Regions from separate parts of the Homo sapiens genome. Here region 1 is linked to region 2. The links are contacts of gene promoters, found by promoter capture Hi-C in human tissues and cell types (Jung and others, 2019). All regions are on one chromosome and are shown on one strand. The core of a region is centred on a gene start or on the middle of the fragment in contact, and the rest is flanking DNA. Distances in the headings are between cores, read along the strand shown. Region 1 holds the start of NXNL1 (nucleoredoxin like 1). Region 2 holds the start of PLVAP (plasmalemma vesicle associated protein).

Region 1 (4,248 bases), core at 188-2,687, 84 kb before region 2:
CCTCTGCCTCCCAGGCTCAAGCAGTTCTCCTGCCTTAGCCTCCCGAGTAGCTGGGATTACAGGCATGTGCCATCACGAGCCGCTAATTTTTGTATTTTCAGTAGAGATGGGGTTTCACCATGTTGGCCAGGCTGGTTTCGAACTCCTGACCTCAGGTGATCCGCCTGCCTCAGCCTCCCAAAGCGCTGGGATTACAGGCATGAGCCACCACACCCGGTCTAATTTTTGCTTTTTTTTTTTTTTTGAGACGGAATCTCACTCTGTCACCCAGGCTGGAGTGCAGTGGCGCGGTCTCGGCTCACTGCAAGCTCCACCTCCCGGGTTCACGCCATTCTCCTGCCTCAGCCTCCCGAGTAGCTGGGACTACAGGTGCCCGCCACCACACCCGGCTAATTTTTTTTGTACTTTTAGTAGAGACGGGGTTTCACTGTGTTAGTCAGGATGGTCTCGATCTCCTGACCTTGTGATCCACCTGCCTCAGCCTCCCAAAGTGCTGGGATTACAGGCGTGAGCCACCACACCTGGCCAATTTTTGCATTTTTAGTAGAGATGGGGTTTCTCCATGTTGGCCAGACTGGTCTCGAACTCCTGACTTCAGGTGATCCACCCACCTTGACCTCCCAAAGCTTTGGGATTACAGGCGTGAGCCACCGTGCCCAGCCTATTTTTTATTTTTAGACACTAGGTCTTGCTCTGTCACCCAGGATGGAGTGCAGTAGTGCAGTCATTGTAGCCTCAACCTCCCAGGCTCAAGTGATCCTTCCATCTCAGCTGAGTAGCTGGGACTACAGGCTCATGACAACACCATGCCCAGCTAAGTTTTTAATTTTTTCATAGAGATGGGGTCTCACACTGTTGCCCAAGCTGCTCTCAAACTCCTGGTCTCAGGTGATCCTCCTGCCTCAGCCTCCCAAAGTGCTGAGATTACAGGCGTGAGTCACTGTCTGCTACATGGTTTTTTGGTTTTTTTTCTTTCTTTCTTTCTTTTTTTTTCTGAGATGGAGTCTCGCTCTGTCGCCCAGGCTGGAGTGCAGTGGCACAATCTCAGCTCACTGCAACCTCCGCCTCCTGGCTTCAAGCGATTCTCCTGCCTCGGCTGCCCAAGTAGCTGGGATTACAGGTGCCCACCACCACGCCTGGCTAATTTTTTTATTTTTTAGTACAGACAGGGTTTCACCATGTTGGCCAGGCTGGTCTCAAACTCCTGACCTCAGATGATCCTCCCACCTCTGCCTCTCAAAGTGCTGGGATCACAGGCGTGAGCCACCGTGCCCATCTGTTACGTGTTTTCTTAATGCGTTTGCGGCTCTCTCCTGAGAAGGGCCACACAGAGAGCCCTGCCCCCCGCCCTTAGAGGCCCCTCAGGTCAAGGTTTAGGCAGATTAGTGAAGTCCTAAGCTGGTTTTCTAAAGATTTCTATTTCTGGGAGAGGAGCCAGTCAGCAGACCGGGGACCACACGCCGCGCTGTCCCCAGCACCCAACCCAGGTTACCATGGCCTCCCTGTTCTCTGGCCGCATCCTGATCCGCAACAATAGCGACCAGGACGAGCTGGATACGGAGGCTGAGGTCAGTCGCAGGCTGGAGAACCGGCTGGTGCTGCTGTTCTTTGGTGCTGGGGCTTGTCCACAGTGCCAGGCCTTCGTGCCCATCCTCAAGGACTTCTTCGTGCGGCTCACAGATGAGTTCTATGTACTGCGGGCGGCTCAGCTGGCCCTGGTGTACGTGTCCCAGGACTCCACGGAGGAGCAGCAGGACCTGTTCCTCAAGGACATGCCAAAGAAATGGCTTTTCCTGCCCTTTGAGGATGATCTGAGGAGGTGAGGAGGGGCAGGGAGGGCTTCCTGGAGGAGGGGGCATGTTCGCTGAAAGTGAAGCATCCATTCTAACTAGAGTGAATGAGCAGCCCCTGTGTGCCAGTCCATATACTGGGAACTAGGGGGTACAGACAGGGGTGCCCACTTCCACATGCTGGCTTCCATGCCACCCCAGGGAGCTTAGAGCCGAGTGAGAGGAACAGATGCAAAAGACAGAATCAACTATGTAATAGCAAGGCCGGGCATGGTGGCTTAACCCTGTAATCCCAGGACTTTGGCAGGCCGAGGTGGGCAGATCACCTGAGGTCGGGAGTTTGAGACAAGCCTGGTCAACATAGTGAAACCCTGTCTCTACTAAAAATACAAAAATTATCCAGGCGTGGTGGTGGGCGCCTGTAATCCCAGCTGCTTGGGAGGCTGAGGCAGGAGAATCGTTTGAAACTGGGAGGCAGATGCTGCAGTGAGGTAAGATCGTGCCACTGCCCTCCAGCCTGGGTGACAGAGGGAGACTCTGTCTAAAAAATCAAAAAACAAATATATAATAGCGAATTGCAGTAGTGCTCAGAGGACAAAGCTAGGCCACAAAGTGGAAATACAATGAGGGAAACCTTGGTGAGGTTCCGGGGTCAGAGGATGCTTCCCCGAAAAAGTGGCTTTAAAGAGAGACCCCTAGCTGGGCACGGTGGCTCATGCCTGTAGTCCTAGCCACCTGGGAGGCTATGGTAAGAGGATAACTGGAGCCTAGAGTTTGAGGCTGCAGTGAGCTATGATCGCACCACTGCACTCCAGCCAGGGCAATACAGGTAGACCCTGTCTCTTAAAAAAGTAAGGCCAGGTACGGTGGCTCACACCTGTAAATCTAGCACTTTGGGAGGCCAAGGTGAGCAGATCACCTGAGGTCAGGAGTTCGAGACTAGCCTGACCAATATGGCAAAACCCTGTCTCTACTAAAAATACAAAAATTAGCCAGGCCTGGTGGCGCACAGCTGTGGTCCCAGCTACTTGCGAGGCTGAGGCAGGAGAATTGCTTGAATCCAGGAGGCGAAAGTTGCAGTGATCCGAGATGGTGCCACTGCACTCCAGCCTGGGCAACAGAGTGAGACTCTGTCTCAAAAATAAAAATAAAAAATAAAAAATGTAATAAATAAATAAATTACAGGGAGACTCCAATGAGAAGAAAGATAGGAGGATGGAGAATGAGGAAAGGGAAGGGGTTCCAGGCAGAGGGCACAGCAGAAAGGCTTGGAGGCTGTCAGAGAAAGAACAACCAGTTCAGGGAGACTGTAGGTAATTCCGGAGAGGATCAAATTTACAATGTTATTGTTACTGCCCACGCATTTGTCATAATCTTCTTTAGATGTGACAGGTCTGTGGTGCAGAGCCACCTTAACAAGTATAGACATGATCCTCAGAGTAGCAGGGAGCCATGGTGGACATTAGAACAGAGGGAGAGGTAGTCGGATTCAAGCTTTATAAGGAGATGTCCAGCCAGGCATGGTGGCTGACACCTGCAATCCCAGCACTTTTGGAGGCTGAGGCAGGAGGATTGCTTGAGGCTGGGAGTTGAAGACCAGCTTGGGCAACACAGCAAGACACCACCACTCCCATCTCTAAAATTATAAAAAAGAAAAATTATGAAAGGTGGCTTGGTGCGGTGGCTCATGCCTGTAATCCCAGCACACTTTGGGAGGCCGAGGTGGGTGGATCACGTGAGGTCAGGAGTTCAAGACCAACCTGGCCAACATGGTGAAACCCCGTCTCTACTAAAAATACAAAAATTAGCCAGACGTAGTGTTGGGTACCTGTAGTCCCAGCTACTCAGGAGGCTGAAGCACGAGAATCGCTTGAACCCGGGAGGCGGAGGGTGCAGTGAGCCAAGATCGCACCACTGCACTCCAGGCTGAGCGACAGAGCAAGACTCTGTCTCAAAAAAAAAAAAAAAAAAAAAAATTAAAAAGATCCTTTAAAAAAATTTACAAAAGGAGCTGCCCAATGAAACAGTATTATAGCTTGACTTTTTATTATGAAAAAAACGTTCAGGCTGGGTGCAGTGGCTCACGCTTGTAATCCTAGCACTTTGAGAGGCCGAGGCGGGCGGATCACGAGGTCAGGAGATCGAAACCAGGGTGAAACCCCGTCTCTACTAAAAATACAATAAATTAGCCGGGCGTGGTGGCGGGCGCCTGTAGTCCCAGCTACTCGGAGAGGCTGAGGCAAGAGAATGGTGTGAACCCGGGAGGTGGAGCTTGCAGTGACCCGAGATCGTGCCACTGCACTCCAGCCTGGGCGACAGAGCGAGACTATGTCACAAAAAAAAAAAAAAAAAGAAAGAAAGAAAAAGAAAGAAAGAAAAAAAATGTTCAAACATAGCAAAAAGTTGAAAGAAGTGTACAATGAAACCCATCGCAATTGTTAACATTTTGCCATATTCA
Region 2 (3,966 bases), core at 466-2,965:
GCATCACCCAGCATGGAGCAAACAAAGAAGGGACTCCAGGGAGGGTTTCCCTGGAGCTCCTGATCCTGGGAGATAGGCAGGACACACAGAATCCTTTGCTTCCGGGTCCCCAAATCCCCTCCAGGCCCAACTGGGGGGTGACCCACAGCGACCCCAGAAAACTCCCGTGGTTTTTTTGGTTTGTTTGTTTTTGTTTTTGAGACAGAGTTTCTCTCTTATCTCCCAGGATGGAGTGCAGTGGCCCGATCTCGCTTCACTGCAACCTCCGCCTCCCGGGTTCAAGTGGTTCTCCTGCCTCAGCTTCCCAAGCAGCTGGGATTACAGGTGCTCGCCACCACACACGGCTAATTTTTGTATTTTTAGTGGAGATGGGGTTTCACCATATTGGCCAGGCTGGTCTCGCACTCCTGACCTCAGGTGATCCGCCTGCCTCAGCCTCACAAAGTGCTGAGATTACAGGTGTGAGCCACTATGCCCGGCCGCCCATGGGGTTTTGAGTGTCGGGGGAGGAATCTCAGTCCCACGTATCCACCACTTGTCATTCACCATCTCACGGAGCCCCCAGCAGTGCCTCCAGCAGGAAATGATCCTAATCATAACAACAGCCACAGAGTGACGAGGCACTGGGTATACCCCGTCTCACAAAGGGGAAAAGGGAGGCACAGACATGCGAGGCCTCTTGCCCGAGCTCTCCCGGGACAAAGCCAGCTCTTCCCCGCTCCAAGTTCATTATTCCTTGTGCTGCAGTTTCCTGGAGCATTTACTGAGCATCTAAGTGAACAGGGCACTGGGGGCAATGACAGAGCTTGGGGAGCCAGCGCCACCGCCATCCATGGCTCAGCCCTCCGTGACGCCCTCCTATGCAATTACTAATCACCTACTGCTTCTCCATCCCTAGGCTAGCTAAGAGTTTCACACTTTTTCTGTTTTTTTTTTTTTTTGAAACAGAGTCTTGCTCTATACCCCAGGCTGGAGTGCAATGGCACGATCTCTGCTCACCGCAACCTCCGACTCCTGGGTTCAAGCGATTCTCCTGCCTCAGCCTCCTGGGTAGCTGGAATTACAGGCGAGCACCACCACACCTGGCTAAGTTTTGTATTTTTAGTAGAGACGGGGGGTTTCACCACGGTGACCGGGTTGGTCTCAAACTTCTGACCTCAGGTGATCCGTCCGCCTCAGCCTCCCAAAGTGCTGGGATTATAGGCGTGAGCCACCGTGCCTGGCACATTTCCCACGTTTTGTGGCACTTAATCAGCACCGCCCTGGTGAAGTGGGTGCACGTCTGTAGCCAGCCTGTCTTGAGGTAAGTCAAGTTCGCTGAACTAACAGCGTGAGACCCCGAGGCAACCCCTTCTCCTCCCTGTGCCTCAGTTTCCTCCGCCACACAAGGGAGACAGCAACAGACCTGGCATGATTCAGCGACCTAATCACAGCAGGTACTGAGAACAGCACCCGCCAGCAAGTAAAGGCGAACGCGAGGCTCGAAGAGGCCAGGAATGCCTGACCAGCCAGCCAGCGCCCCACCCAGCATTAATCAGAGGGGTCCAGCCGGTGCCCTGGCTCTGGGCCCCCAGCCCCACCCCCGCCTTCTCACAGCCAGAGTGGGAGTGTTGTGATAACCCGCAGCCCCCGTTTCCTCCGGGCCAGGAAGGAGCCAGGCAGAGGAAGTATTAAGAGGAGTAATATAAGCACTCCCCCCTGCGAGGCGGGGGCCAGAGCAGGCCTGGTGGTGAGCAGGGACGGTGCACCGGACGGCGGGATCGAGCAAATGGGTCTGGCCATGGAGCACGGAGGGTCCTACGCTCGGGCGGGGGGCAGCTCTCGGGGCTGCTGGTATTACCTGCGCTACTTCTTCCTCTTCGTCTCCCTCATCCAATTCCTCATCATCCTGGGGCTCGTGCTCTTCATGGTCTATGGCAACGTGCACGTGAGCACAGAGTCCAACCTGCAGGCCACCGAGCGCCGAGCCGAGGGCCTATACAGTCAGCTCCTAGGGCTCACGGCCTCCCAGTCCAACTTGACCAAGGAGCTCAACTTCACCACCCGCGCCAAGGATGCCATCATGCAGATGTGGCTGAATGCTCGCCGCGACCTGGACCGCATCAATGCCAGCTTCCGCCAGTGCCAGGGTGACCGGGTAAGGCTGTGGGCAGGACACTCGCCCTGGGGACCCTGAGCAAGCCCCCTCACCTCTCTGAGCCTGAGTTTCCTCATCCAAGAGAGGGGGACGATCACAGGACCAATGCTCTCTTTTCTTATGAGACAGAGTCTCGCTCCGTCTCCCAGGCTGGAGTGCAGTGGTGCAATCTCGGCTCACTGCAACCTCTGCCTCCTGGGTTGGAGTGATTCTCCTGCCTCAGCCTCCCGAGTAGCTGGGATTACAGGCATGTGCCATCATAACCGGCTCATTTTTGTATTTTTAGTAGAGATGGGGTTTCACCATGTTGGCCAGGCTGGTCTCAAACTCCTGACCTCAAGTGATACGCCTGCCTTGGCCTCCCAAATTGTTGGGATTACAAGCGTGAGCCACTGCACCCGGCCGATAGATTTTTTTTTTTTCCTTAAGAGACAGGGTCTCCATGTGTATCCTGGGCTGGATGGAGTGCAATTGCTATCACAGCTCACTGCAACCTCAATCTCCTGGACTCAAGTGATCCTCTTGCCTCAGCCTCCTGAGTAGCTGGGACTACAGGCGTGCACCACCACACCCAGCTAATATGTTTATATTTAGCAGAGATGAGGTCTCACTATGTTGCCCAGGCTAGTCTCGAACTCCTGGGCTCAAGCAATCCTCTCACCCCAGCCTCCCAAACTGCTGGGATTACAGGTGTGGGGCACTGCGTCCAGCTAAATTTTTTTTATTTCTTTTCTTTTTTTTGGAGGCAGGGTCTCACTCTGTCACCCAGGCTGGAGCACAGTGATGTGAGCATAGCTCACTGAAGCCTTGACATCCTGGGCTCCAGCAATCCTCCTGCCTCAGCCTTTTGAGTAGCTGGCACTATGGACATGCCACTATGCCCAGGTCATTTTTTATTTTTAGTAGACGTGGGGTCTCGCTATGTTGATCAGGCTGGTCTTGAACTCCTGGGCTCAAACAATCCTCCCTCCTGGACCTCCCAAAGTGCTGAGATTACAGGTGGGCACCACCACACCTGGCAATTTTTTTTTTTTTTTTTGAGACGGAGTCTCGCTCTGTCACCCAGGCTGAAGTGCAGTGGCACAATCTCGCCTCACTGCAACCTCCACCTCCCAGGTTCAAGTGATTCTCCTGCCTCAGCCTCCTGAGTAGCTGGGATTACAGGCGTGTGCAACCATGCCAGCTAATTTTTGTATTTTTAGTAGAGACGGGGTTTCACCATGTTTGCCAGGCTGGTCTCAAACTCCTGACCTCAAGTGAGCCACCCACCTCGGCCTCCCATAGTGCTGGGATTACAGGCATGAGCCACCGTGCCCTGACCTGGTGCCCTGGCTAACTTTTTTTTAGAGACAGAATCTCACTATGCTGCTGAGGCTGGTCTTGAACTCCTAGGCTCACCCTCCTAAAGTGCTGAGATTACAGGCATGAGCCACCATTCCCAGCCAGCAACATTTTTTTTAAACTGTAAGTATATTCCATGCAATATTTGAGATATAATTTTGAAAATAATATTCATTGTCTTTTTGGAATCCAAGTTTAATTCTCCTCCTGTGTGTTAATTGGCAGTCCTGAGCCCATAACTTACTATGCATGAAGCTCCCAGAATGTGCCAGCACTAATCAAAGGGGTCCAGCACACACAAGCTGCAAATAAGTGGCTGAAGACCGGCTACAGTAGCTCACACCTGTAATCCCAGCACTTTGGGAGACCGAGGCAGGAGGACCACCTGAGTCCAGGAATTTGAGACCAACCTGGGCAACATGGTGAAACCCTGTCTGTACAAAAAGTACAAAAATTAGGCCAGGCATACTGGCTAACACCTGTAATCC

The links. Contacts are between HindIII fragments. The study calls those that stand out against the background at their distance.
Region 1: the fragment with the promoter of NXNL1 here is called in contact with the fragment with the promoter of PLVAP in region 2 in 1 of the 25 tissues and cell types used here (spleen).

The regions. Positions count from the first base shown.
Region 1 is chr19:17,458,115-17,462,362 of GRCh38, reverse strand. NXNL1 (nucleoredoxin like 1) reads left to right here and starts at 1,437. Exons shown (of 2, transcript NM_138454.2): 1 at 1,437-1,819. The coding sequence starts at 1,494. RefSeq lists an enhancer at 1,031-1,531. The HindIII fragment of the contact is 17,798 bases long and covers 1-1,955 here.
Region 2 is chr19:17,375,091-17,379,056 of GRCh38, reverse strand. PLVAP (plasmalemma vesicle associated protein) reads left to right here and starts at 1,715. Exons shown (of 6, transcript NM_031310.3): 1 at 1,715-2,137. The coding sequence starts at 1,769. LOC105372298 (a long non-coding RNA gene) reads left to right here. Exons shown (of 3, transcript XR_936362.3): 3 at 227-267. The HindIII fragment of the contact is 34,336 bases long and covers 1-3,966 here.